7 separate regions of the Homo sapiens genome follow, and all the other regions are linked to region 5. Evidence: promoter capture Hi-C in 16 types of primary human blood cells and fetal thymus (Javierre and others, 2016). All regions are on one chromosome and are shown on one strand. Each heading gives the region's core, a stretch centred on a gene start or on the middle of the fragment in contact. The rest is flanking DNA. Distances are from core to core; before and after follow the strand shown.

Region 1 (4,107 bases), core at 367-2,866, 1.4 Mb after region 5:
TGATGGCTTTTATTAGATGTAGGTAAGGAATGATTCTGTTGCTCTCTTCGGATCTGGTACTTTGGATCTAAGGGTCTTTTCTGCGTTTGTATGATCTTATTCTTAGGCTTTTATGAGGCATGCATTGAAATTTGGGAGTGTGGTCAGGAATGACTGTCCTGCCCCTTGGATCTGAGCAGAGATTGGAGTTATTCAAGGTTGGTAATGACCACATTCTAAGTGGATTTTACCAGACTTCAAATGAACCTTTTTTTCCTAATTGGATTTGGAAGTAAAGGTAAAATGTAGATTATGAAAACAATATTGGAAGAGTCTGTCAAATGAGTTGGGGCAATGCTTTATTTAAAGCACTTAATTAAGAAGTATTAGATATCTTCTATTAAGGGTATGTGTGTATTGTGTGTTTAATAAACACATACAGTATATAACATACCATACATATCATTTATTGAACAGTTGATACAGCTAAGCATTGTTCTTGAGGACTCTACATATATGTATTAACTCATTTAATTTGCATGACTAAGAGGTAGATATTTACCCTTATTTTACAGTTGGATGACTATGGCTTATTCTTAATAATTGTCTGCATTTCAACTGCTAGTAAGTGGTGGAACTTGGTAGCTTTGAGTTTGTGCGTTTAACCACTGCACCATAGTGTCTCCCTTTTGATCTGTTGCTAATTCTAACCTAAACTCTTTATGATTCTAATGTGATTTAAATGTTTATTTTTCTTTTAGAAACAATTGGCAGAGCACATGGCATTGTTCTTTAGCTATGTTCTCATCACTGAAGAGTGAGTTAGCATCATCAACTGAATATTAGGGCTTTGGAGTTCATTTCCTCTATTAACTCATTAAAGAAAAAATAGTTTAGAGAAGGGAAAAATTTATCTTGGCAAAGAGCAATAAGCAGGACTTTTGCAATATCTCTCCCCACAACTTCAATATGTAAGAGATTTAGAAATAAGCTGAAAAAAAAGTCTTGTTCTATGATTTTTTTTTTTCATTTTCTTAGAGAATATCCTCCCTATGCCACACATACAAACACATGTTAAGGTATTTGTGTTTTTGATTCAGTCCATAGTTTACATAGTAGAATGAAATATTTGATTTATCCATTCAACAAATATTTGAGAGCCTATTATATGCTACGCTTTGTTTTATATGCTAGAGAGTAAGAGAGACTAAGTTACTGCCTTCATGGATCTTCTGTTTTAAAGAAGTATAGAGACAGAAAATGTTAGATGATAATCAGTACTATGCAGAAAAAATATACTATCAAGGGGATAGAGAAAGAAGCTGCTATTTTAGACAGGATAGTCTGTCATGCTATCTCTTAAAGACCTGAATGAAGTGAGAGGTGCAAGCTTTGGTCGTATCTGGGCAAATGTATTTCAAGCAGAAAAAAAAGGAAGTAGGAAGATCCTGAAAAGGGATTACCTGGCATGTTTGAGGAACAGCAGAGATCAGTGTAGCAAAAATGGTAGAGAATCAGGGACCAGATATTTGTTCCAAATGTAATCTGGTAATTTCTCTAAAGAAGTGATAAGTTTTATACAGTTGTCATATTTCTTAGTATTTTTAGTTGCTCAGATAATACATTTAAAGTGGCTAACATGAAGTAAGGCTTTTTTATACAGTTGTCACTTGGTAACCACTGGGGCTAGTTCCAGGACCACCCAGAGATACCAAGATCGGCAATGCTCAAGTCCCTTATGTAAAATGATGTAGTTTTTGCCTATAACCTGTGCACATCTTGTTGTGTACTTTAAATCGTCTCTAGATTACTTATAATACCTAAGTGCCTAGACATCACATTTGTGCGGATTCAATGTCGTATCATACTTGGTGCACATCAGATTCAAGCTTTGCTTTCTGGAACATTTTGGAATTTTTTTTTCCTGAGTATTTTTGATCAGGAATTATATTTTCAATATAATTTCTTGGTTGAATCCCATGAATGCAGAAGCCCCAGACACAGAGGGCCGACTGTATATGTTATATACAAATTACTATTTAAAATCGTAATAGACGAATAAGAAAATTTTTAAGATACGATAGATCCTCTAGTTATTCACTGATACCCAAAAATACATATATTTTTTAAATTACTTATTTTAAATTTCATAGTATCTTAATGTGAAAGGAGCCGTGTCAAGAGCTAGTGTATACTCTTTATTGATATATTAAACCATTATGAAATTATCATATTTTCACAATAATTAATAAGCAATTGCCTGGTTACCTAAAATTTAATTTGCCCAGGTTTATTACTAGATGACTTTGTTTGTAAGCTTAGGTTCATTAGGGACAACAGAAAACTCCTAAGTGGCTTGAGTAAGATAGAAGTTTGTTTCCCTTACCAGAAACATTAACACTTCTAGAGTAGTATGGTGATTTTCATGGATTGAAGCTCCTTTTTATCTCATTCTTCTATTATCCTGAAAACACAGTTTTTGCCTTATGGTCTAATATGGTCTCTTCACTTTAGCTATCACATCAGCATTTCAGCAAGCAAGAAAGAGAAAAGGAAGGTCTTCCCTTTTAAGGATACAGTACTTCCCAGAAATTGCACGTACCACTTTCACTTTATATCCCATTGGCCAGATCTTACATGCAGGGGTACACTTACCTACAAGAAGGCTGGGCTATGTATGTAGTTTTTTGGTTTTTTGTTTTTTACTCTGGGAAGCTCTGTATCTGTCTAGCTTTGATGACCCTATTATTGACAGGAACAGGTAGTTATTAGTGTACATCTATCAGTCACTGCACCACAGGTCTTTTAAACAATAAGGAGAAATTAGTTTTATAGTAATGTGGTTTTTTTTCTATTTTTTCTATATTAAATCTTAAATTATGAAATATACTATAGAATATTCTGTGAATTTTTTAAGAGATAAAATTGTCCTACAACCAACCATGTATACCTTTATGTTGTCAATATAAAGTAATTATTAAGATAGCGATTAAGAGTATGGAGCCAAACTGCTTAGGTTCAGGTTCTGCCAGTGCTACCTGCCAGTGGTATAACCTTGGGCAACTTACCTATTTAACTTTTTGTGATATAGTGTTGTCATCTTAAAATGGGAAGATAATAATACCTAACTCATAGGATCGTTCTTAGGATTAAGTAATTGGTTGTAAAGAACATAGAAAAGCTCCTGGCTCAGAGTATAGCCTCAAATGCTGTTAGTTCTTACTATCAATTGGCAGGTTTTTAGCGAAAGTACTTTTAATAATACCCTAAGTAAAACTTAACTTTAAAAGTTAACCTATGAAGATGCATTAATGTTTCCACTGTGGTAGAGAAAAAGACTCATCTTTAAAAATGAGTCTAAATTTGCTTATTTCATTTTGGAGTATGTTATTACTTACATTGAGAGATTTTCTTAGGTAGCGAGCTGTAGTATTTATAATATGTATACATATGTATACAATATATGTTCCTTTGCAAATAGTTATGTTTTTTAAACTTTCCACAAAAAGTGTGCCTTTTAAAAGTCTATTCAGAGCCATAATATCAAAAGACTATTAGCAGTGAAACTATTTTATTACCTGTATCTTGGGATAAATAAATGAACAGGAACCTATTAGAGTAATTATGTGACAATTGAAAGTTGAGGATCTTTCAAGGTGGAACTAGGCTTCATGTTAAGGCTTTGCTTAATTTACTTTCCCAGGAAGTCTTGCCTTAATCCCTGGGCCTGATTACTATATACTCTGTTGTGTTTTTTTATATAGCATTCTATACATAACTCTTTTAGCACCTAGCATATTTTATTGAAATTGTATATTTGTGTCTATCTCCCCTACCACATCATAAGACTATGTCCCACTCATGTTTACATGCTCTGCATCCTACACACTGTCAGTATCGTAGATTTAATTAACTTATTATGCTGAACAGTGATACAGGTTGCCATTTTGTAGGAGTTTGTTTTTTTTTTTTAAATCTTAAGTCAGAAATAACAGTAATTTATTCATGGCCTTAAACTGTTCTCCAAATTTGGCCATCTGCAGCAAGATGTTTAGAAATAGGCATATTTCCAAAATAAGCTATAATACTTCAAAGTAATGTTCCGTGTTACTGAAGTGCAGTTTAGGA
Region 2 (3,942 bases), core at 396-2,895, 1.4 Mb after region 5:
TTTTTCCAACAGTCAGCTATTTTATGGCACACTTTTTTTGACTGATGACATCTCCTTTGCTATACCTCAATTTTTGGAATTTAGAGAAGAAATCAGTAGTTTTGCAATGTTAATTATTTAGATATTTAATTTCGCAGATTTTTAAACTTTATTTTCATAATTTCTGCTTAATGTTTAAAATTGAAGAGCCTTTTCATGTATTAAATAATGAACACAAATTATATAATTAAAATAATTGGAGATGTTGAAAATCATTTTCCCTTCTTAAACAGAAATAAATATTTGGAATGAAGGGGAATGTACTAGAACACCCTTTTTGCCACGGGTAAAAATAACAGAAATGTATGGTTTGTTTTACCTTCATTTCTGTACAAGTAAAGCTTATTAGTCTAATGTTTTGTTCCTTTCCCACCTCACCCCTACCTCTTTTGTTTTGTTTTGTTTTTGCCCTTTATGTACTACATTCTTATTTTCTAACTTTTAAACACTGTATTGGAGGTTTTTTTTTAATTTACAGATCATATTTATTTTACTATTTTTGTAGAAAATTATTAATTTTGATTGTATTTTTGTATTTTAAAAGCTTCTTCACTTGTGTTCCCTAAATATTCATATTGCTGCCCAAAAGTATGACTGTGGAGGAAAAAAAAATACTTTAAAAATCCACACTTTTTGTTAAGAAGGAAACATTTAGCATTTATATATTTGTGTATGGAAAACACTTGATATTTTATCCCTGTTGCATCTGGCTGCACAGAGCCTCTCCTCAAAGATGCTACAAAACTTGAATATAACACATTTTGGAAGGCTGACTAACCTCGATTCTGTGTTGTGATGTGCAATACTGTTTCTAATGTTTGTATAAAAAAAAACAGTGTAAACCTTTTTAATGCAAATTTATTTTTTTCATTGCATATTTTGCAGATTTTATCCACAGTGTCATTTTTTACTGTCAGAAAAGATACCCCTTTTGTCATTGCAACTATTTTTTAAATCCAGAAATCTTTGTACTGATGTAAATGATTGTAGTTATTTTGGATAGTGTTTTGCTAACAAAAGGAGAGACTTTTTTCATGCATATTTCTATTTTGTTTTTTTGGGTTTTATTTTATTTTAATAGTAGTAAAATACTTGGAATAATTTTTCATATTCTTGTCATTAATATTATTTTGTATTTTTATGTGGAAATATATAATTTTATGACACTAATTGCTAAAGTTTATTTTATGTTGAATTATTTTTGGAGCTGAAATCTTTGTAATATTAAAGCAACTAGTTTCTAATTCCCAGTTTCTGTATAGAATCGCACAAGTGGTTTATGGAGTGTTTGGATTGTAATTATAAATGGTTCTTTGATATGCAAATTAATATTTTCAGTTGATTTTATTTTATATTCCTAATGGGGTGTTAAAGCCGTTTTTTATTTTTTTCTAAATAAAAAGAGAACCCATGCTTTTATGGACACTAGGTAAACACCTTCAGCTTAAATTTTTCGTTAAATATTTTAGTTTATTTTATTGTTATCTTCCAGGTGTCTAAATCTCCAGTCTGTCTGTTGTACTGGTAATTTAACTCTGTAATGGAATAGTTTGCTGCCAACTATTTATATTAAGTAATTTTTAAATATTTGTAATATTGTTGACTGACTAATAAACTATTAAGTTATTGGCATAGTTGTGGAATCTTATTCTTCGGTTCAAATCAAGTAAAATATTCAAAAACACCAGTAAGATCTTATTTAGAGAGAGAGCTTAGTGACATAAATATATTATGATGCCCAGGCCAAACTACATTTCAGTACAAGGATAGAGGAGAAGCCTTGGAGACCATGTTGTCTAGTATCTCTCAGTATTTCAGCCCTGAGTCCTCTTGTGTCAGTTCTCCCACCCTCATCCCCCATATATCATAGAAATTTCTGTGTTACAGTCATCACTTATAATTAATATTGCCATATCTAAGTTGATGCTGCATTCAAAAAATGAGGAACTGTTAATCATGTTGCTAAATGCACAGTTTTCATGATACTTTCTCAGATACCCTCTAGTTGGGAATCACTTGTAGTGTTTTACTTGTTCTTTGCACAGCCTGTGTGGATTTTTCAGTGTCTACTTTGAAGAGGGAGGGAGAAGGAAAAGAAGTATAGAGTAAGGAGCCTGGAATCTAGGTTCCTCATCCTAATTATAACTAGAACAGCTCTACTTTTAACTTTAACAAAGCTGAAGTTCTACCTAAAAATTGGTATGCAGTCACTGGGCAGAAGGAGGAAAGGATTCCATTGCATTTTCAGAAAATGAAAGATCACTGATCATAACCAAATGTTTTGTTTTACCTATAAGGACATAGGTATGTCAGAAAGGGTAAAACTTAATGTTTCCTCATCTTCTACAAGACACCATAGAAACTCCTTAAATGGGCTAATCTTGCCATTGTATGCCCTTCATATTGTGTCACTGTCACCCATGTCCTCCAAGCAAATCATGCATCTCTACATATCTGTATCTTGTTTAGCATATGCTGCCATTTTTCTATTTGGAATCTATTTTCTCTTTCCTCAACAAAGTCCTCTTTCATAATAAAACTAAAGAGCCGCCTCCACATTCTGGCCTATCTAAGACAACAGGAATTTCACAGTGTCTTAATTCCCTTGCTACTGACATAAAGATCATTTTCTTATGCTCCCCTTTCCCTCGGTTATTTAAGAAAAGAATAAGCTTTGAATACCAACTTAGTACTGAACACCGACTTTGTCAAATCTTTGCTCACAAGGTCTCATAGCCTTGAAGGTGAAAGGCCAGGCTAACTCAAATGCAATGCAGTATGCTAATAAAAGATAAAATACACTTTCATAAACATGTATAAAGCATGAAAGGAAGGAATATTCTTCTTAAGTAATTTCATTTCCTTGAAATGAAATTACTTAAGAACTTTTACATAGGGGATAGCATTTGACTTAAATTTTTCCATGAACAAAGAATTAAAAGATACAAAGATTAGCACTCACAAATCCTTTCTAAAAGAGTTACTTAAAGATCTATTTCACCAAAAAGAAGGAATGATAATAAAATACCCAGGAAACATGAAGACATGGGATACTACATAGGTAAAAAATATCGCTCTAGTGTATAGTTAGGAAACGAAATGTGGCTAAAAAGCTTCACACAATTTAGAAGCAAGTCCAAATAAAGTCATAATTTAAAACATCGATGTTAAAATAATAACTAAAACTCAAGGTAATTTAAAGCAAAACCTGGATGAACATTTGAAATGAAGAAGAAAGCCTTGTTTGGGATAGAAGAAGATAAGACTATAGATGTTGATTAATTTATTATTAATACTAAATTGTCTTCAAATTGCAATATATGTAATTTTTAAATGCATTTAATATATATTTAAATGTAACATTTTAAATATTTTAAGTCAAATACACAAATTATGAAAAAGATAAAACCCCACCCACCCTTTCCTCATCTACAATTTCCACTCATAAAAGGCAACTTTTAACTCTTTTTAAGTGTTTTCACTTTAACAGTATCATGTTATTTGCCTTATTATATCCAAATAGCACACTTAACAATGTTTATTTTTCAGTTTAAGACATTGCTGACCTCCTAAAATGACTGCATATTTTAATTCAGACATCCCCCATGTATGCACACACACACTCAGAGTGTTCATTTTGTGAATAATTTATCACGCTGATGATTATTTCCTGAGCACTTTTCTGTATATTTTACACTTCACTAATAAAATTTATTTTAAAAAGGAAAATGGAAAAGAAAACAATGCTTGCTTCAATAGCAGGATAAGAGAGTGAGGAACATAGGAAGAAATACAAAAACAGAATCAAAGAGATTTTTCATGGTAACTAAATTCTAGGTCTATAGGCTGTTTTTAAAACCATTTTGTGCAATGTAATGCACATATAGAAAATGAATTTCCTAT
Region 3 (3,863 bases), core at 688-3,187, 1.6 Mb after region 5:
CATTACTCCTTCCCTGGAGAGGGAACAAGGTGAGAGCCAAGAGTGTCACTCAGTGGAGCTCTCTCCACATGGAAGCATGAAGGCATGAAGGTGGGGAAAGGAGCTCCCTCCTCAACACTGTGAGTTTATTTTCCTTGGAAGAACTCTATCTTTTGGTGATGTACCAATGTTAGACAATTGTGGGATTGTCTCCTCTGAGTCACTGGGCCAGGCTATGGCTCTGTGGATAGTGGTTTTCCTTACAGAGAACTAAGGTCCTTGCTATCACTCATCCTGGAAGATGCTGATGCTGAGAAGGGAAACAAGGACCTGCATGAGTCCCACACTAGGTGAGAATCAGTTTAGCCCAGAACCCAAAGTATGAAGATGCCTGGAGAGTTTGTGGTGGTGGGAAGCTGGCTGAAAGGCCCAGCACATGGAGAACACACCATCAGATACGAAGGGAGGGGGTCTGAGAAAAGCCCCTGGGATGAGATTGAGCCAGCTGGGAGGAATGATACGTTATTACCCACAGTGCACAGCCCTTCCATTATCCCTGAAGCTTCAATGCACTCCTGTTCCACACCCCAAATCCAGTTTTTTTTTTTTAGGTATTATATGTGGTAATATCTTGTGCTGCAGATGGAGTAGCAAGAGGAAGAACAATGCCACAATCCCCCGATGCAAAATTGGTAGAAAGAATAACTACTAGCTACCCCTCTTCACAGAAGAGTGGCCATCCCACCAGCCATCAGCAGTAGAGGAAGTAGCATGGGAGCATAATAAGAACTATGGGTGGAGGAACTCAAAGTTCATGTCCCTGAGCACCTCGGACCTCTGAGATACAGCCAGATGCCTTGCAAAGGGCTACTTCCCAGAAATCATGTTAGTAGGACTCAAACTGTTCTAATTTGGGCATAAAGGTAAATGAGGCATTGTTTTGCAGTCACAGGCAACATACACAAAGCACTTAGCCCATCTGCCAGCTTTTAACAAGCAATAATTACTCCACATACAGGACCTTTTTTTATTTCAGTAGTTATATTATCATGTTCTGGGAATCTTGGCTTTCATTTCCTCAGAGTGGCTGATCGACAGGTCACGATGGCTTTAGAGCTATTTGGTGGTCTCCAGTCAGGCACTTGACAAGGATTTGTGGAGAGGAAGCATTCTAAGTTCTGCTTAAAATACAATAAAGATTCGACTTTGCAGACAAAAAGCAGGGCAAGACAAAATGTGGGACAAGGCCATTGCAAGCTGGGCTGCCCAGGGAGAGATCTGGCAACAGCAGTGACGTGCAAAGGACAGGAGAACTTGAGAGCTGGGAGAAGAGAAAGAGAAGCAGGAAGTTTATACAAGGTGGTTTTGTAGAAGAAGATCAAACCTGACATATTTTTAGGACTTGCATATAAAATGCAAAATAGCCATGCCTTTTAATAACCATCTTTGTCAGGGATCTAGAACTAGAAATACCATTTGACCCAGCCATCCCATTACTGGGTATATACCCAAATGACTATAAATCATGCTGCTATAAAGACACATGCACACTTATGTTTATTGCGGCATTATTCACAATAGCAAAGACTTGGAACCAACCCAAATGTCCAACAATGATAGACTGGATTACGAAAATGTGGCACATATACACCATGGAATACTATGCAGCCATAAAAAATGATGAGTTCATGTCCTTTGTAGGGACATGGATGAAATTGGAAATCATCATTCTCAGTAAACTATCGCAAGAACAAAAAACCAAACACCGCATATTCTCACTCATAGGTGGGAATTGAACAATGAGATCACATGGACACAGGAAGGGGAATATCACACTCTGGGGACTGTGGTGGGGAGGGGGGAGTGATAGCATTGGGAGATATACCTAATGCTAGATGACGAGTTAGTGGGTGCAGCGCACCAGCATGGCACATGTATACATATGTAACTAACCTGCACAATGTGCACATGTACCCTAAAACTTAAATTAAAAAAAAAAATGAAATTGCAATAAATTCTCCTTGACAGAAACTCAGTCAAGCCAGCATGTAATCTTCTGCTGTCAGGAAGAGTAATGATGAGTGGTATACATTCTTCTGTTCTATGGGAAAAAAAAAATAAATAGATGAAGGATGTTGCTTGCCTGGGAAGATGGAAGTTAATTTTCCAAAGCTGCTTTTCAAGGCTCGGCTTGCTTTCTTTGTGGGGTCTCCTTTTTATCACTCTTGTGAAAAATGAATACTTTTAGGAAGGCACTCTTTGGTCCATTCCTTGTCACCACTTCTTTCCCATGAAGAAGAAGTAAGAGGATCTGGAATTAGATAAATTGGGGCTTGAACCCAAGCTCTGCCAGTTATTAGCTATGAGTTCTTGAGCAAGTTGTTTCCATACCCAAGCCCCAATAAAGGAACTTGTAAATAAGAGTAATAATAGTACCTCTCTCCCAAGTCTTATTATGAAGATTGACTGAAATAAGACATGCTACATGCTTAGACTAAAATGGTGGCATTTTGTTAAGTGCTCCATAAATGTTAGTTGCTATTATCATCACCATCATTCTCTTTCTCTTCCTCTTCCTCTTCTTTTTCTTCTTCTTCGATAGCTTCTCACTTTATCACCCAGGCTGGAGTGTAGTGGCACAATCTTGGCTCTTCCACCTCCTGAGTTCAAGCGATTCTCTTGTCTCAGCCTCCTAAGTAGCTGGGACTACAGGTGCACGCCACAACACAGGCCAAGTTTGTATTTTTAATAGAGACAGGATTTTACCTTGTTGGCCAGGCTGGTCTCGAACTCCTAACCTCAGGTGATCCACCCACCTCTGCCTCCCAAAGTGCTTGGATTACAGGCATGAGCCACCGTGCCTGGCCACTTTCTTTATAGTTGTCATTACTTTCTACCATCTCTAGAGATATCACTTTTTTTTTTTTAACAGAGTGTTTTCCCAATTCAAGGTCAGAGCTTTGGGATTCCACAATCATGTTTTGGGACCACTGCAAAGGGTGAATTTGAGAAAGTGAAACCAAATGGACTTTAATAGGCTTCTTCCCTTCTGCTAGTTCATCTCAAGAAGTTTTGCTTTGTGTGTGTATGTGTGTGTCTCCTCTCCATTTTATTTTGAAAACTCTATTATAATCCAATCATGCAACAAATATTTTAGAAAAGTTACTATGAATCATCCCTATCAACACACAAATATCTTGACTATCCACCAATTTTAAAGATAAAATAACACTCCATGACTACCTATCTCCTTTCAAGCACTGCTCATTAATCTGCTTCTCTTCAAGCAAAGCTCCCAAAGAGGTAGATGCAATTGGTATCTCCTGTTGATCCCCCAAACTTCTCCTTTCAATGCAAGCTTCCTTCCCCAACACTATTGAGACCACCCTTGTCAAAGCCAGCAGTGACTTGAGTTGCCAAATTCACTGACCATTTCTCTATCCTTCTGGCACTTGACTTCACAGCAGCATTCAGCCAAGTACACCCTCCCTTGTTCTATTGTTGTTATTCTCTACCATCTTTAGAGATACTATATTTTCACCAGCTTCTTCTGGTGTCCATGTCCTCACTTTCTTCAGACTTCCATCTAACCAGTTTTGCAGTTTTGTTATTGTTGTTGTTGTTAATTTCTTCCCAATGGCTTGAAGTGCCTAGAGCATTTCCCAGGCCCCCTTTCCCTTCTCAACCTCTACTCTCCTTAGGTGATCTCATCCAGTCTAACGGCTTTAAATGTCATATATACAACTTTGAAGCCCAAATTTTATCTCAAGATTTTAATCTTTTTCTGACTTATATATTAACTCCTACTAAATGTCATCTGATATGGTTTGGCTCTGTGTCTCCACCCAAATCTCACCTGGAATTGTAATCCCCATAATCCCGAT
Region 4 (3,744 bases), core at 1,125-3,624, 1.5 Mb after region 5:
ATGCACCCAGGCTGCACTGCCCACAGCAAGGTCACTGTAGGAGCATCCCTCCTCTCCTCTGTGCACAGCAGAAACACTGCAAGTGAGCCCAGGTCACTTTCCTTATGTGTCCCTGAACCCCAGGTAAAGGCCCCCCTGCCTCCCATATCCCCATGCCTTACTTACATGGCTCTTGGGTTATAAGGAGCCCTCATATCACTGTTTCTCTTCTGCAACTTCTGCTCCCCACCTTTGCCCCACTAGTTAACCCCCAGGTCTCCATCCAAAGAAAGGATTCACAGCTTCCAGAATTTCAGTTCCAGTGAGGCAAAATGCTGCTCTTCCTCTCCCATCACCACTTTAAAACACCACCAGGTCAAGACCAGTGTGGAAAAGGGGGAAGGAGGCTATGAAATCCTGCTGATAGAGAAGTCATGGGGGACTGTTTTGTGTTTTTATCTTTTATTTTTCCAAGTTTTGGATCCCTTCCCTTCTTCCATCTGGCACAAAAGCACTTGGAGGCCAGTATCTGGACCTGGCCTTCAAAAGCCAGTGAGTGTCAACAGGAGAACGGATTCCAGACGCACGGGACAATGGCCTTTTCAAGGCACAGAATGCTGCTCAGTATTGTACGGTTTGCATGTGATGCAGCTTCTTGAATGCACACAAACACTCCCATTTTCACCAGCTCCATGATGGTGACTTATTTACTGCTGAAGATCCCAGGGCCGATTCAAACTGCAAACATCTATCCCCACCCCAAAAGGGAAGAAAAAAAAAAAAACCTGACAACAACAAAAAGCCACATATGAAAAAGGAAAAGCCAACCAGTGTGCGACTGTGGGACTGGAACTCTGAAGTGGGCACCAGGTGCATTAATTACACTTGATTGCGTGTTGGTTTATGACTGCAGTCACTTGTGTGCTATGTTCTTGCCCCGCAGCATCTGTGCCGAAGGATGTCCTTGATATTTCACTAAGCAAGATGAATATTGGCCAGATGGTGACTTCACAAGGACATAATTCACATAGCATTTTCCTGCCCCGACACAGATTTCTGTGAAGGAATCTTGAATGCCACGCTGAACAAAACAGAACAAGAAAACTCAATGCCCCGAGAAGGCTCAGTCGTCGTAAGTTGAAGATTAATGGTCTCCACAGTGATGCCGACAGCAGCCCAAATGGCAGCCGGATCCCAGGCTCATGCTGCAGATCTTGCCAACCCATCTCTCTGTCGCTTGCAGAGTGAGCTGACATCATCTGAGGCATCTCCAATTCACTTGAGGGGGGAAGGGCACTCCCTGGGCCCCAAAAACACACACCACAGGAAACTGGGTCATTTACTTTTTAAAATGATTAATTTTGTGTAGTGACAGGCTTCGTCAGTACCTGCGTGCTTGGTAATTTTATTTTGATGGTGACCAAGTGAAGAACGTGCCCTAGGCTCCAGCAGCGAGCTCATTCTGGTGCCCTGGAAGGGGAAAATGGGAGAGAAGCAAATCTCTCTCCTTGGAAACTCTTAGCAACACCGAGAAGCCCTGGTATTATCAGGCCGCCAGCAAGTAAGCAAAATGGCCCAGTTCCGAGTTGCTTTAGGAAAGTTCTTACTCCCTGAGAGTACTATGTAGCTGACCTACATGGAGTTAAAAAGGTAGGCATTACACACTTGTCAGTGGTATTTTAAATGTGGTAAGCCTGTCTGGAATTTGTAAAATTTCTACAACCTACACATTTGAGTCCTGAACCATGAAATAAAGATATGGAGAGTGAAGGTCATCCTGCTACTAAAGAAGGTCAACCCAAGACAGTCTGAAAGCAATAGAAGTAGGGGGCCGGGGTGTCACATTCCTGAGGTCTCTGTGTGCAGACTGCCCATGTCCTAGTGATGTGGAGTCAAGACACAAGACATGTCCTCAAGCAGGACCAAAATCATCCCTTCAAAATCACATCGCCATGTTGAATGGTTGCTGTTTGTTTGTTTAGAAGGAATAAATAATAGTGATAAAAGGGATGGAGGCTATTTCTTGTACACCCACTGCGTGTGAGACTCCCTGCTGCACACGCCCCCAGTAACTCCTACAGCCCTCTGCAAGGTGTACCCATCGAGAGATTGTGCCCCCGCATCAGACTGCCTGCTCTGCCACCTTCTGCTGCGTGACCTCACACAACTGACTTAACCGCTCTGAAAGTCAGTTCCCTCGTGGGTTAAACAGAAATAAGAAGAGAACCTAGTTCACAAGCTGGTAAGGACTGAATGAAAGAATGCTTTGAAAGCTTGGTAGAGAGGCTGTCATACACCAAGTGCTCAAAAAAGTCAGCAATCATTATTACTCAGCATGCGTAGCTCTGGAAGTGAAACAGATTCTCACAAACTCTACCAAAGGGTACCTCATTCTTACACGATAAAAATAAGACCAGGCCTTCCTAGGCTGCTGCCTCCTGCCTCCTGCTAGGATGCAAATTCATGGCCAAAAACCCAGTGACAACAGTCCCTCCTTTACCAGCACTATTTGGCAGGCCAAGCTTTGGCAAACAGCCCACCATACCCATTAAAAAAAAACCACCATTGTTTCATCTGGAGGCTTTTTGATCCCCCTAAATAAAATGTTACCACCCTCCCCACCCCACCCCCAGGACAGATTCAGCCTGCAGGGGAGCCAGCTCCTCCTGCTATGTCACTCCAGCCAGGCAGGCCAGGCAGGATGACTCAGCAGAAAAGAGCCTGCTGCGGGGTCCGCCCACCCTCGGGTCAGCTGCGGCCAGAAAAGGAAGGCCTCTGTGAGACAAACAGAAAAGGACACTGCTCAGGTCCCCTGGGTGCAAAGCATCCTTTGTCTGTGGGGACTTCAGACAGGAACCGCCCATGTTGACATTTCAGCTGGCAGAGCAGGCTTGGCCTGGCTGGGAGAGGCAGGAACCCCTGCAGAGGCTACAAAAGATAGTCCACACTTCTTTAGCCCAGCCAGATACCACAGTCCCTGTCCTCTGTACGTATTAATATACATAACCTCAGACTTATGCGTTTTCTATTATTATCCCTACTTTTGAGATGGGGACACTAAAGCACAGAGAAGGCAAATAACTTGTCCAGGGTAACACAGCCATGAAGTGGGGAAGCAGGGCTTACACCAAAGAGTTGTGGCTTCCAAGCAGGTGCACACAGCATCCAGGTCTGTCCTTCTGGCTGCATGTTATTCCCTCCCTCTGCTCTGCTGCTTCTCGGGAGCTCAGAGCCGAAGGCAGCATTTCATGGTTTCTGGAGCCTGGCTCCCTTCCTCCATCCCCTTCACTGCCCAATTACAGGACTCACCCTCTCTTCCCTGGATGCCATCACTACCTTCTAACCAGTTCTCCTTCCACCCAGGTTCACTCTTCTTGACCATCTCATCTCCCATTTGATGCTCCAGCAGCAAATACTGCTTGGAGGGCCCTACACATGCAGAGCTGGCATCACCCATGCCTTGGCTGGCTCATGCTGTCCTGATTGCCCAGAACACCTTTCTTTTCCAGCCTCTGCATGCTCGACTGCTCCTGTAGGACTCACCACCTCCAGGAATCTATTTCCCTTTCCTCAGGCTGGATGAAGTGGCTGGTTGAAGCTCACAGAACATCCAGTGCATATTTCTTGTGTGGCATTTTAGGACCGAGAACTTATCTATGACTTTGCATCTCCCATGCTGGGCATCATCCCTGACATCTAGGATGTGCTCCATAAAAGTCTGTTACATAATGCAAATAAAGGTGGTCTCCATCAGTACTACCAGTC
Region 5 (3,836 bases), core at 1,026-3,525:
GAAGGGTCTGGCAGGGATATTATAGACACATACCAATAACATTTTGTGGGAATAGGATAATAAAAAAGTTGAGCCTCAGACATTGCAGCAGTACATTACAATTTTTAATTTGTATACATAATGATTCATGGGTTTCTGAGAACACACAGATTCATGGGTTTCTGAGAACAGCAAAGTAAAAATTCCACTTGTTGAATACGAATAACTAACTTTATTTGATAACATTTACCTGGCCATGTCTAACCTTTTCCCATTAAATAACAACAAAAATAATAAAGGCAATAGAAATTATTTCTAAAAGGTAGCAGTGCATATTCCTGAAGACAAAAGTAAAAAAAACTATACTTCCTAAATAGATGAACACTCCCAAGTGAATTGAATTCTCTGTGGTGCAAAACCTCCAATATCCCGAAAAACCACGTTTTACATAGTGGGCCCAGTATGAGTCCTTATAAAGGAAGATGTACCAGGATATTCAAGAGTTTCCCCAGAAGACATAGTGGAACTGTGTGCAGTTCACCTGAAAGCTTTAGAAGAAACTGTGGATGTTGTAAACATGCATTTCTCAAAGATACAAAGCTCCTCAGAACAACTAAACATACTATGAGAAAACCCTCGACCGGGCGCGGTGGCTCATGCCTACTGGGCGAATCACGAGGTCAGGAGATCGAGACCATCCTGGCCAACACGGTGAAACCTTGTGTCTACTAAAAATACAAAAATTAGCAGGGCGTGGTGGCACGCGCTTGTAATCCCAGCTACTTGGGAGGCTGAGACAGGAGAGTCGCTTGAACCCGGGAGGCGGAGGTTGCAGTGAGCCGAGATCACGCCATTGCATTCCAGCCTGGCGACAGGGCGAGACTCTGTCTCAAAAAAAAAAAAAAAAAAAAAAAAGGAAACCCTCATTTCATCAAAACTCCAATCCAATGGACCCAACCAGATTTAACAAGCAGACAAAAACAACCCCTACAAACCAGTTAATTTTCCAACATGCTTTCTGCTTCCAGAATTCTAGACTGTACTGTGGTTTTCCATCCATCTCACTGACTGCTCTTTCCTGGTGTCTTTGGCTAATTCTTTGCCAATCCAGCTAAGTTTACTTGTTCCTGCTAATGTCCCTTTCACTCTGACATTTGGTACAAAATCCCTTCCCCTTTCCAGCCTCTCTTTCTGGACAGGGAACCTTGTTGCTGTCCTTTCCCTTCTCTACATTACTCTCCTGAATCTGCTCTCTTTCCTGTCCTTTCTCCACTTCAGTATCTGCTGTCACCTCTCCTGCATCTTTTCTCCACTGAATGACTCGGTTCTCTCTACCCCACCTTCCTGTCCCTTCTTACCTTAGAATGGTGACATGGCCTAAGTTACCTAAATCAGGCAATCACTGCTAGAAACAATACTAAAGTCCTGTCTCAGGTTTGCCTCCTTATCTTTGCGCTCCCACCCCCACGATGTCCAGCAAAGCATATTACACATAACTTGATTCAATTACCATTTAGTCATTTCTCCAAAGGATAAAGGCCCTTACCGCCCAGAAACCTTCAAGAAAGAAGGCAAACATAACTTCGATACAAAGTAAAATCATCAGATATGAGAATGAATACAAAACTGGCTACTGTTAGCGCCACTGTTTCCAAACCAGTTCCTGTAAGAACAATGCCTTAGTCTTGCTCATCAGACCGGGGTAATCACTGTGCCGAAACCATGACTGGCACGTAGTAGGTACTTAAACACTAGTCGGTAAAACGAACCAAAGGACACGCTAAGGAATGAACACTCTGTGCTTTGCACAGTCCGTGGCACACAGCTGCAGCTCCAAGAGGAAGCCACTGCAAAAGAAGCGCGCCCTTGGGTCCTCCCCTTCCCTCGCAGACCCCCAAACCCGGCGCGCTCCTAACCTTGGTGTCCACGTCGGCCAGGCAGTCTCTGCGGAACTGGTCGAAGAGCCCCTGGCTCTTGAGGTGGTTCACGATCATGGCCACGAGCTGCGGGTCCCCGGCGCCCGCACCCGCGCCGCCCGCCCCGCCCGCGCCGGGGCCAGCCCCGGGGCCCGGCGGCGGCGGCGGTGGCTGCGGCTGCGGCTGCGGCGGGGGAGGCGGCGGCGCCGGAGGAGGCGGCTGCGGCTGTGGGTTGGTGGCCATGGTGGCCTGTGCCGGGGAGGGCAAGGGCCCTGACCGGCGGACGATCCTGGGAGGCGGCGGCTGCACTGGTCCCGCCGCCTGAGGGAAGCCAACGGGATGTTGTTACGGAACCAGCGGATCCAGAGCAACCCCGGAAGTGAAAGGGAACTGGGGGAAAGGAGGAAAAGACGGTGACAACATTGACGAAAGTCCGGCGACGGAGGCCGCGAAGAGCCAGTTTCGACCGTCGCCGGGCGCAAGCGCCCTCGCGAGGCCGAGCTGCGCCGGAAGTGGCGGCGACTGTGGCGACGGAGACGACAAGACTGTGCTGGTCGCGGGTTGTGGGGTTTAGGTCACCGGCAGGGGTCTGGAGTCCCTGGAGGTTAGGGCTTCGACCCGCGCGACACCTGGGGCCCTAGGTCTGAGCGGGGGCAGTGCGTTTCTGGCCCCGCTTCATCCGCGACGGCATTTTAGGCCTGCCTCTCTTGCTCCAGTTTCCCGGAGCAGTGCATAGAGATCCATAGACATTTGTAATGCGAACCCTACGTGGATCTGCTCATTCTAACTTCGCCCAACCCTCTTCGTTCTTAGCCTGTGATCCTGCACTATTCTTGTCCCAGCAGGTAGCTCCAAGTTCCTTCTGTCTCTCTTCTGCCTGCACATACCATTTCCCCGTGGGGGTCCCTTGTTTCTGGCAGTGTGCCTGTGGATTAGATCCGATCCCTCCAGCCCGTTCTTCCTATCTGTGAAGACAAATCGACAGGCTTTTATTTTTAGGAGATTTGCTATTGATTACTATGATTATAGCAGGTAAAACATCTATAGCACATATTATGTACCAAGCGTGGCGTTAAGTGCTTTTACATGTATTAACGCATTTAATCTTTGGACAAACACTAAGAGCTAGGTCTGATTACTGTCCCCAGTTTGCAAATCAGGGAACCAAGGCTCAGATAAATTAAGTATGTTGAGTAAGATTACACAGCTAGCAAATCACCTGCTTTTGGACTGCATCATCTTTGAAATTATTATTAGTACGTGGTCAAAGCAACATAAATATTAGAAAATTTCATAATTACTAAATAGTGTGTGTAACTTTATTGAAAAATGCATATTGTTGCTTTTTAAAGTTCCTACATCTGTGGCTGAATATATCTTATTAGTAGGAAAAGAAGGGTTGAGCATCAATTCTATTCCTATTTGTAATTTTTATAGCTGTGTGCCCTGAGAAACCTTGTTCATATAAACAAGTACTGTGCCTAGGAATGGAAGAGTTTTGTTGTAGCAATATCATTCAATTCTTGACCTCAAAAAATTAGATTTGATTATCTATGAGCTGACTTCAATTAGGCCCTCCTTCTATTTTATGGAAAGCAAAGAGCTGAAAACCACCTGGCTTGCCAAAGGATTTGTTTACTTAATCCTTATTTTTTCACTCTTTCAGATTCTGGGAAATATACCAGATAGGTTTTACCAAGATACCAAATGACTATGAATTAGACCTGATTTTTTCAATGAGGTGTACCTTTCACCTGATATACTGAAAGTTTGGAGAATATCTAAACATTTTTCATTTTCATAAATAGTTTTGGATAAGATTTATTTTTGTTATCAGGTGGTTAAATTATGTTTTTGTCAAAATTTGCAACTGCAGATTTAGCTCATTCAAGTTCAAAATCTTTGTCACTGGGCACAGTGTCTCACGCCTGTAATCCTAGC
Region 6 (4,185 bases), core at 951-3,450, 1.5 Mb after region 5:
TTGTCCTCCATCTATAGTTTGCCATTTTGAAGGTGTTGCCTTCAATTATTGATGTAATAAAGCTGAAGTCTGCCATATTGTTTTTTGTTCTCTGCTTATTTCTTCTGTTTTCCAGCTTTGCTTTTTCTGCCTTCCTGTAGGTTACTTGAACTTTTTTTAGAATTCTGTTTTGATTTATCTCTAGTGCTGGCATGTTTCGGTGCACCTTTCCAATTCAGGGCCTTTTGTCAGTCTCTAGAAGTCTATTTTCTTCTCTTCACCTTTCCAAGCCTTCTTATGTTCATTTTACATGTAATGTTCAGATTTTTAGCTTCACACAGTGGTAGAAATATAGGAAAATGTGTCCTCTTCACTTTTGTAGAAGTTGAAGTCTCCTCTCATTTTTAAAGTTGTGTTCGTTCTTATTTGTGAGAACATGTAATGTCTACATATTATTTTTTATTAGTACTTTTGGCAAAGCTTTCCCAGACATCTTTTGGTTGATTGAAGCTCATTCCCTAACAGAGAATGCAACTCTGCTATTGCCTTGCTTTTCATGTTGTTTTAAAGAAGTCTGATGACAAACTAATTATCTTGCCTTTCTAAGTTATTCTATCTTTGTGCCTGGAGGACTTGAGGATTTTTTCTTTTCCTTTAATGTCTATTGATTTTACTAGACCATGTCCCAGAATCAATTACTCCATTTTTTCCTAGTTCCCTTTAGGCCCTGTCTATGTGTAAATTCAGTTTTCCTTTTAGTTCTGGAACTTTTCTGGAATTTCACTTTTTAAAATATTAGTTCTATTTATTTTCTTATTTGGGGATGCCAATCATAGGTATGTTAGACACCCTTTTCCAATTTTATGTCATTTCAACCAGTTTCCCTCTGACCTTTTTTACTTTGTTCTTCATGTCATCATTATTTTGATTGGTGATCTATTTTTGTCAACATTCTTTCCATTTTATTTGATTCTATCCTCCTCTTCAGTCTTCATTACTGATGAACTTTTATCTTTTGCCCTATTTCTTTCCCAAGTCCCTTCCCAATTCATTTTCACTCATTTTATTATTTTCTGGGTTTTAAAAAATTGTTTGCATTCTTTTAATTTTTTAAAAATCAACACAGTTATTGCACATATTCATGGGATGCACAGTGATATTTTGATACACATAAAGTATAGTGATCAGATCAGGGAAGCTGGGTGGCACCCACCTGCAGTCCCAGCTACTTAGGAGGATGAGCAGCAGAATCACTTGAGCCCAGGACTCTGAGTTCAGCCTAAGCAACATAGCAAGACCCTATCTTTATTAAAAATTATTTTGAAAACCTACTCTTTGGGGTTCTTTCTGGGTAGTTGTTGTGTGTGCTTTTTTGGGGGTCTATTTCTGTTCCTAGTTTTCATATTTCTGATTCAATGTGTTTTTTCATATCTGTAAATTGATTCACTTTGGAGTGTTCCTTTACACTTGTTTTAGAGTTTTCTTCTGATTTTTGGCTAAATTTCCTGGGGAGAATTTCTGTTAACAGAAATGCTTTGATTCTCATTTTCTAATTTTTTATAACAATCTCATATAAATATTATATGAGATATATATTATTATATATATTATTTTATATATATACATATATATATATATATATATATATATATAAATATATATATATATGCTTGATTTTCTTGATTCTTATTCGTTTCATGAACAGGCTTCCTAATTTAAGAGCTTCCCTTTCTTCGCGTTCTTCCCTCTTCTAGGTAGTTTCTTTTATGGATGATTTGGGCCCTAAGTTGGGGTGGGATGGGGTGAAGGAGGGTATATTTCTCTTGGAGAGTAATTTATCTCCCCTGCTGATGTTCTTCATTGGTTTGTCTCCCAGGGGCACCAGCTCTTCTCTCTCTGCAGCTCTTCCCTCTCTTCCCTCTCTTCTCTCTCTGCCCTGTGTCCAGTACTGACAATTTCAGGTCACAGGATACATTCTGTACTTTGGATTTTAATGTTGGACTTTCGTTTCTGGGTTTATTTTGTTTGCACATTTTATGAAGACTCTCAAGCCTCCCCTTTTCTAATCTCTCACCCACAGGCAGGGGCTCTATTGGAATTCACCTTTTTCTCTACTTACAGGTAAGTTAGAGGTTGTGATGCTTCTGTCTCCTACTAACAAAAGACATGGTCATGTGTCGTTTTGTCTGCTTTTTCTCCTTGTTATTCTTTGTTTTCCTTTTGGGAGGGTGTGGTAAGTTTTGAAATCAAGGAACCTCCATTGTTCTCTGAATCCAGAAATGTCCTCTGCCTGGCTTTGTTTTAGACAGTCAGCAAAGCCAACTATTCCTATCAACTCTAACCCTTATTCAGTGACAGGTTTTGTGAGACAATGTCCCCCAAAGCTCCAGTTATCTTTTTCTTTTTATTGTTTTTATTTTCCCTACAAAGACATCAGGTTACCAATGATTTTGTCTACTTAGAAAGAACATCCTATTGACTAAGTAATAATTTCATTATTGATCTACGTGTAGCCAATGATATCTTATCTGACAGCTGTATTAGCACAGAGTTGATAAACTAACCACCAAGTAAAGGGGCATTTCACACAGCTGGAGCTAAGCTCTTGAGAGTAGATGTGCAATATTCATTAAAAATGTTTAAGATTAATAATGGCTTATGCATCCTAGTTATTGCTATGGTGAATGTCTGGAGGATCAGCAGTCCCTAGGTTGGGAACTATTCCCGTGCCCATTCCACCTCATTTAATCAGCAAACATTTACAGAAGATGGGGGTTAAAGAGAAAAGTATGAAGCCAGCCCATGAAGGAAGACTATGGACTGGAGGAGACAGATAAGCATTTAATTACAAGATTGGAAGCCCCTTAATAAGTTGCTAGTGGTAGAGTGGGGTCAAAAGAGGAAAAGGATCAAGTCTGCTTGGGTGAATCAGAAAAGCCTTCAGAAAGGATATGTCTAAACCAGGTCTTAAAAGAATGAGTAAGGAAATTTGTCAGATCAGCTTATTCCAGGATTCAGCATCTCTCCCAGCTGCTTCCCCAGAACAATGAGCAGCACAAGTTAGAACTCACCTCCACACTTTCACTCCTAAACACACACACACACACACACACACAGACACCAAACTCAAGAAAAAGTGGATGCATTCTGTTTTTAAATATATATATTATATTTTTTACTATAAGAGTGTACTGGAATCATCCAGGGAACTTTTTGTTTTCAAAATACCCAAGCAAGAGGCCTCTCTACTCATAATCTTGCATCACCCTCAGTGTGAACTGGGACCGGGGCATTCACTTATATAAAGAGGTTTATACGATTTTGGTCCTTAATGTGGAGAGAATTAGACTAAAGGACCTCCTGGTCTCCTGCTCTAGGTTTCCTCCAGGAACAGAAGACTTTTCTCTGCAACAATGATGAGAAGACTCTCCCGTGGAATGCAGAGCTATGTTGGTCACAGTCCCTCTGAGTGTTTCCAGGGTACCAGATGGAAAGACCTCAGTTTCCAAAGAATAGGTTCCTGTCCTCCATGATGGGGATGGGGCTGTTTCTCCAGCCCTGTCGGGCGATTCCAGTCAACAATACCACCTGAGTGCTCGCTTCTGAAGTAAACTAGCAAGTCATCTCTCCTAGTGCTTTTTCTTTCCAAGAAAATGTAACTCCACTGAGCTGGTTGTTAGTTCACTCCACTTTGTTTGATCAAAGGGAACAGGGAGTCCTTTGAGAACCTCTCTTGGGTGGAAGGGCAGGCCCGCATCTGCTGATTATCTACCCCCACGCCCCATGGCACCCAACTGTGTCCTGGTGAGAAGCTGTAGAACTCCATGAGCCAATCTTCAAATCTGACAGGGATGGCGCCCATGGAATGAGGGGCCATGTGCAGGCACATTTACCCGGAAGATCTGTGGCTCACGTGTGTTCGTATTTTCAACTCAGGAGCCCGGTTTTCAGCTTCTCAGGTCTAAGCTTCCTGTATGCTGGGGTAGGTGGACAGTGAGCGGGGAGAGTAGTTCAAATTCAGTGTTGGGGAAAATGCCTTCACCCTGGAAGCCTGGCCCTTGTTTGAGGGATGTGCCTGCAGCTACAACCTTTCTTTCTAAACAGCCTAACAGCTCTTTGAAGAAACATAAGAAGATACCTGCTTCTCTTTCCTATTCAATCTCAAATCTGGCAGAATTGTAGAGTTTGTGGCAAGAGACCCAAAAA
Region 7 (3,964 bases), core at 899-3,398, 1.4 Mb after region 5:
CTGTTTGTTTAATATATAGACAGATACCCAACATAAAACCGATACTGGTCCATGGTCTGTTAGGAACCAGGCCACACAGCAGGAGGTGAGTGGAGGGCAAGTGAGCATTGCTGCCTGCCTGAGCTCCACCTCCTGTCAGATCAGCAGTAGCATTAGATTCTCACAGGAGCGTGAACCCTATTGTGAACTGCATGTGTGAAGGATCTAGGTTGTGTGCTCCTTATGAGAATCTAATGCCTGATGATCTGAGGTGGAACATTTTCATCCCAAAATCATCCCCCTGCTGTGGAAAAATTGTTGTCCACAAAACTGGTCCCTGGTGCCGAAAAGGTTGGGGATCGCTGCTATAGATTATATGCATTGTCTCCTATCCAAAAAAATCCTTCAGTTAATACTGAAAGAAAAACAACTTGTCCATATTCTTACTGTTTTTCCTTCTCTAACATACTTCTCTTCATTTGATCTCTATACGTAATAAAACTCTAAATACATGCAATGTGACTCCTACCCAACTTTCCTGAAACAGCTACCTTCACAGATCATGTATGTCCTCAAAAACAACTGTTTATTAAAAGTAATTATCTTAATATCTCACATTGTTACTTAATTGCTCTTTCGTTCTTTTATTGGTTTTTTGGTGCTTCTATTACCATGATATTTTGGCTGCCCTCCCACTTTTCTTACCACTCCTTTCTCTAACTCCTTGAATGTTCTGCTTCTTCCTTGTAAGTTTCCCAAGGAACTGTCCTCATCATTTCTCGCTGGAGTGTTTATCATTGATGTTATAAAGGACCTTAAACTATAACCCATGGAGTTGACTCCAAATTATTTTCTCAGAAATATGACATTTCTTTTCTCCACTTCCTTTTCAGCTTCCTACTATACATTTGCTTCTGAACATCCTAACAGCATATAAAACTTTACATCTAAAGCTTAAATTATTTTCCTTTCTTATACCAGTTTCTGGTCTTAACTGTCCTTATATCAGTTAATGGTTTTATCATTTTCTAAAGTCTTCCTTAGATCTCTCCTTTTTCATTCTTTCTCCCTATTTTGTTTCCTATCTGCTTGTGACTGCCATCCATCCTTTGTGGATTTTTTGCACAGCTTCTGATCTGCTCATTTTCAACTACCTTATCCATATTGACTAAGTCTCCCTAATGCATAGAAAAAGTTATAATCTTGATTGAATCCCTGTATCTAGTTTATTATCTTCACCACCTACTAAATGTCTCGTTAGCCTGTCATTCAATGCTAAATACTCTAGCCTCAAAGGGCTTTTCTGGCTTTTACTCTCCTTGTTTCCAACATATTTCAGCCAACCTTGACTATTCCTTATTTCTCAAGTAAGTTCAATTTTTCCTACATTTTCTTATGTTTCTCCTTTCACTTGGAAAAAAAGGAAAATTTACTGAAAACCATGTTCCTGTAAATATTTCCACCTATAGATATTCTCCTCTTTCTAATGCCTCACTATGTACTGCTATTTTTCTCTTTTTATCCCAAATGCTATTTAATTTCACTTAGAGATTTAGGAAATCATCCTTTTATTTGACTCCTTTCCTCCAGAATATGTCCTCTGAGCACTTTGAAGCTTTCTTATGGATGTGTACCATGGTTACATATATAGATCTTATCTTTCTAAATGTACATTCCTTGACAGCCAGGGAGTATATCAGGGCATTTAAGTTTTGTGGAGGGATTACCCACAGAGTGGGGATTACTTCAGAGGATTGTGCAGGATGTGCCCTATATAAGGATTACCTCCTGAAATGTGGGCTCAAATGGGCACTAACGTGCTAGAGGGGGTACCTTTTCTATTTTGCACATGTGCGGAAGCTCCGTCTACTGTTTCATGTAATTGGCACACGTGTAATAAATTAGGTGAAGACCTTGTATACAAGTATTACTTGTTCTCCTCATCCTTACTTACTGTAGTCTACAAGTGATTTTTTATAAATTATATCCCCTTATCTATTTAGTCTGTGTCATTTCCTTTCTGCCACCAGTTTCTGAAAAGTTTCTCCTGTTATATATCCATTCTAACTGTCCACATACATTAGGTTCTTGCTTATAACAAGTTCTTGCTCATAACAAGTTGAAGTGATCTAGTATCTCTTTTGCAGTTTAATTGTTGACATATGACTATGTTTATTTCTAAGTCACTCTTTAGATTGCTTCTTTCTTGAATCCAGGTAATTAAAACCACATGCTATTTAAATTTCTCTTAATTTTTATGTTCACCTGCATCACCTTCATTTTTAAGTCTTTGAATTTGTCATTGGTATTTTTATGCTTAAATTTATCATTTTCTCAGATCTGAGATTCAAGTTGTATTTGTTCTTTATTCTAGGTCGTTCTTCCCTCTTTCCAATAGATGATGGCTTGCTTGATGATGGTCACAGTGATCAAGTTGGAGTTTTAAATTCACCCACCTGTTATTCAGCTCACCAAAATGGAGAGCGAATAGAACGCTTCTCTCGAAAAGTTTTTGTTGGTGGTCTTCCTCCAGATATTGATGAAGGTATTTATTAAGATATTTATTAACATGGTGATTTGGGCTTTAACAAAAACAAAAAGATATGAAATTTAATGTGAATGGACTATGAAAGTTTTTACCACCTAGAGATTTTCAGAATTAGAATGCATTTTCTTCTTTTAAAATACTTTATCACCTGTTGAAATATGAAAGTAGTTGAACAAAAGCTTTTTTATTTTTCACTTTAGATCTTATCATATTTGTAACTGTGAGCATTTTTTGTAAATAAGATTTTCATGACCTAGGTCATATTCTACTTGTTTTTAAAATATAGAATATATTTAGGTATATAAAACTTAAAGCTTTTTGTATCACCATAATGTGTGCATGCACACATACACTGAAATAAATGGAACCAACCATAAGATAATATCTGCAATGCTTGGTAATCAAAAGTTTATTTTTATTTTTATTTATTTATTTATTTTTTTTTTTGAGGTGGAGTCTCGCTCTGTCTTCCAGGCTGGAGTGCAGTGGCGCAATCTCGGCTCGCTGCAAACTCCACTTCCCGGGTTCAAGCGATTCTCCTGCCTCAGCCTCCTGAGTAGCTGGGACTACAGGCGCCCGCCACCATGCCCCGCTAATTTGTTGTATTTTTAGGTGAGACGGGGTTTCACTGTGTTAGCCAGAATGGTTTTGATCTCCTGACCTCATGATCCGCCCACTTTAGCCTCCCAAAGTGCTGGGATTACAGGCATGAGCCACCATACCCGGCCAAAAGTTTAATTTCTTTAAGGATAAATGTGCTCTTAGAAACAGGGAAGAAAGAGGCTATTAAACCCGAAAGGGAAATGGAAACAGAACATGAATAGGAAATTAGGGTTTCACAAACACTAGTAATTGTATGTGATAACAAAAGAAAATTAATTGAAGACTTAAAATATTAAGCTATATTTGTGAGGTTATGGGAAATGTATCACTCATTCTTACATTTTAGGAAATTTTTTAGTTATGATTCAGATATCCACAAACTTAATTCTAAGTATTGATCTTCATAAGCTTTCTATGTAATGAAATAACGTAAGACATAGCAATTGGATGTAACCTATGTGGATTTCAGTGAAACTACCAGGCATGTATCAGACCCTTGTATATTTTTTCAACATTGTAGTTATTCAAGTCTTGTTTTAGCAGACCTTTTTTCCTATAATAAAATGATTTTATTTGTGAAGCAGTAATAGATTTTATTTATATATGTTGGCATTTTTTTCAATCCAGTGCTATTTGTGGTTTGGTGTACTATAAAGTCATTAGTATCCATACAATGTTATATAAAATTTTAAAATTCACATGGAATTGAGTATTCTAACCAATGCATTGCTTAAAAGTGAATTTATTTTGACAAAAATTGTTAATCTTGACATATTATTTTAATAAGTATATTAGACATATTCCCAGTGTTTATATTCTAATTTATCTTAAGGT

The links. Contacts are between HindIII fragments. The CHiCAGO score rates a contact against its expected background, and 5 or more counts as called.
Region 1: a contact is called between a fragment that was not itself captured here and the fragment with the promoter of BOD1L1 in region 5, in 9 of 17 cell types (naive B cells, activated CD4 T cells, total B cells and 6 more). The highest score is 8.8, in naive B cells.
Region 2: a contact is called between a fragment that was not itself captured here and the fragment with the promoter of BOD1L1 in region 5, in 3 of 17 cell types (monocytes, neutrophils and total B cells). The highest score is 6.7, in monocytes.
Region 3: a contact is called between a fragment that was not itself captured here and the fragment with the promoter of BOD1L1 in region 5, in 1 of 17 cell types (monocytes). The highest score is 5.3, in monocytes.
Region 4: a fragment that was not itself captured here is called in contact with the fragment with the promoter of BOD1L1 in region 5 in 2 of 17 cell types (endothelial precursors and megakaryocytes); the score reaches 6.3 in endothelial precursors.
Region 6: a contact is called between a fragment that was not itself captured here and the fragment with the promoter of BOD1L1 in region 5, in 1 of 17 cell types (monocytes). The highest score is 5.6, in monocytes.
Region 7: a contact is called between a fragment that was not itself captured here and the fragment with the promoter of BOD1L1 in region 5, in 7 of 17 cell types (monocytes, total B cells, neutrophils and 4 more). The highest score is 8.6, in monocytes.

What each region holds. Positions count from the first base shown.
Region 1 is chr4:15,027,336-15,031,442 of GRCh38, forward strand. All of the region lies in intron 4 of CPEB2 (cytoplasmic polyadenylation element binding protein 2), which reads left to right. All of the region lies in intron 2 of C1QTNF7-AS1 (C1QTNF7 antisense RNA 1), which reads right to left. Among named protein-coding and RNA genes, the nearest start is that of CPEB2, 27 kb to the left of the region's middle. The HindIII fragment of the contact is 499 bases long and covers 1,368-1,866 here.
Region 2 is chr4:15,068,481-15,072,422 of GRCh38, forward strand. It overlaps CPEB2 (cytoplasmic polyadenylation element binding protein 2), which reads left to right. Exons shown (of 12, transcript NM_001177382.2): 12 at 1-1,671. The region is part of intron 2 of C1QTNF7-AS1 (C1QTNF7 antisense RNA 1); the gene reads right to left. Among named protein-coding and RNA genes, the nearest start is that of CPEB2, 68 kb to the left of the region's middle. The HindIII fragment of the contact is 2,128 bases long and covers 582-2,709 here.
Region 3 is chr4:15,202,551-15,206,413 of GRCh38, forward strand. The region is part of intron 2 of C1QTNF7-AS1 (C1QTNF7 antisense RNA 1); the gene reads right to left. Among named protein-coding and RNA genes, the nearest start is that of CPEB2, 200 kb to the left of the region's middle. The HindIII fragment of the contact is 2,796 bases long and covers 540-3,335 here.
Region 4 is chr4:15,147,333-15,151,076 of GRCh38, forward strand. The region is part of intron 2 of C1QTNF7-AS1 (C1QTNF7 antisense RNA 1); the gene reads right to left. Among named protein-coding and RNA genes, the nearest start is that of CPEB2, 150 kb to the left of the region's middle. RefSeq lists enhancers at 1,688-2,644, 2,480-3,679, 2,645-3,601, 2,737-2,876. The HindIII fragment of the contact is 249 bases long and covers 2,251-2,499 here.
Region 5 is chr4:13,625,450-13,629,285 of GRCh38, forward strand. It overlaps BOD1L1 (biorientation of chromosomes in cell division 1 like 1), which reads right to left and starts at 2,276. Exons shown (of 26, transcript NM_148894.3): 1 at 1,896-2,276. The coding sequence starts at 2,138. MIR5091 (microRNA 5091) reads left to right here and starts at 2,416; the gene lies at 2,416-2,508. RefSeq lists enhancers at 1,705-2,435, 2,273-2,432, 2,436-3,166 and a silencer at 1,933-2,132. The HindIII fragment of the contact is 7,220 bases long and covers 526-3,836 here.
Region 6 is chr4:15,165,982-15,170,166 of GRCh38, forward strand. All of the region lies in intron 2 of C1QTNF7-AS1 (C1QTNF7 antisense RNA 1), which reads right to left. Among named protein-coding and RNA genes, the nearest start is that of CPEB2, 170 kb to the left of the region's middle. The HindIII fragment of the contact is 3,486 bases long and covers 458-3,943 here.
Region 7 is chr4:15,050,061-15,054,024 of GRCh38, forward strand. It overlaps CPEB2 (cytoplasmic polyadenylation element binding protein 2), which reads left to right. Exons shown (of 12, transcript NM_001177382.2): 7 at 2,354-2,524. All of the region lies in intron 2 of C1QTNF7-AS1 (C1QTNF7 antisense RNA 1), which reads right to left. Among named protein-coding and RNA genes, the nearest start is that of CPEB2, 50 kb to the left of the region's middle. The HindIII fragment of the contact is 1,112 bases long and covers 1,593-2,704 here.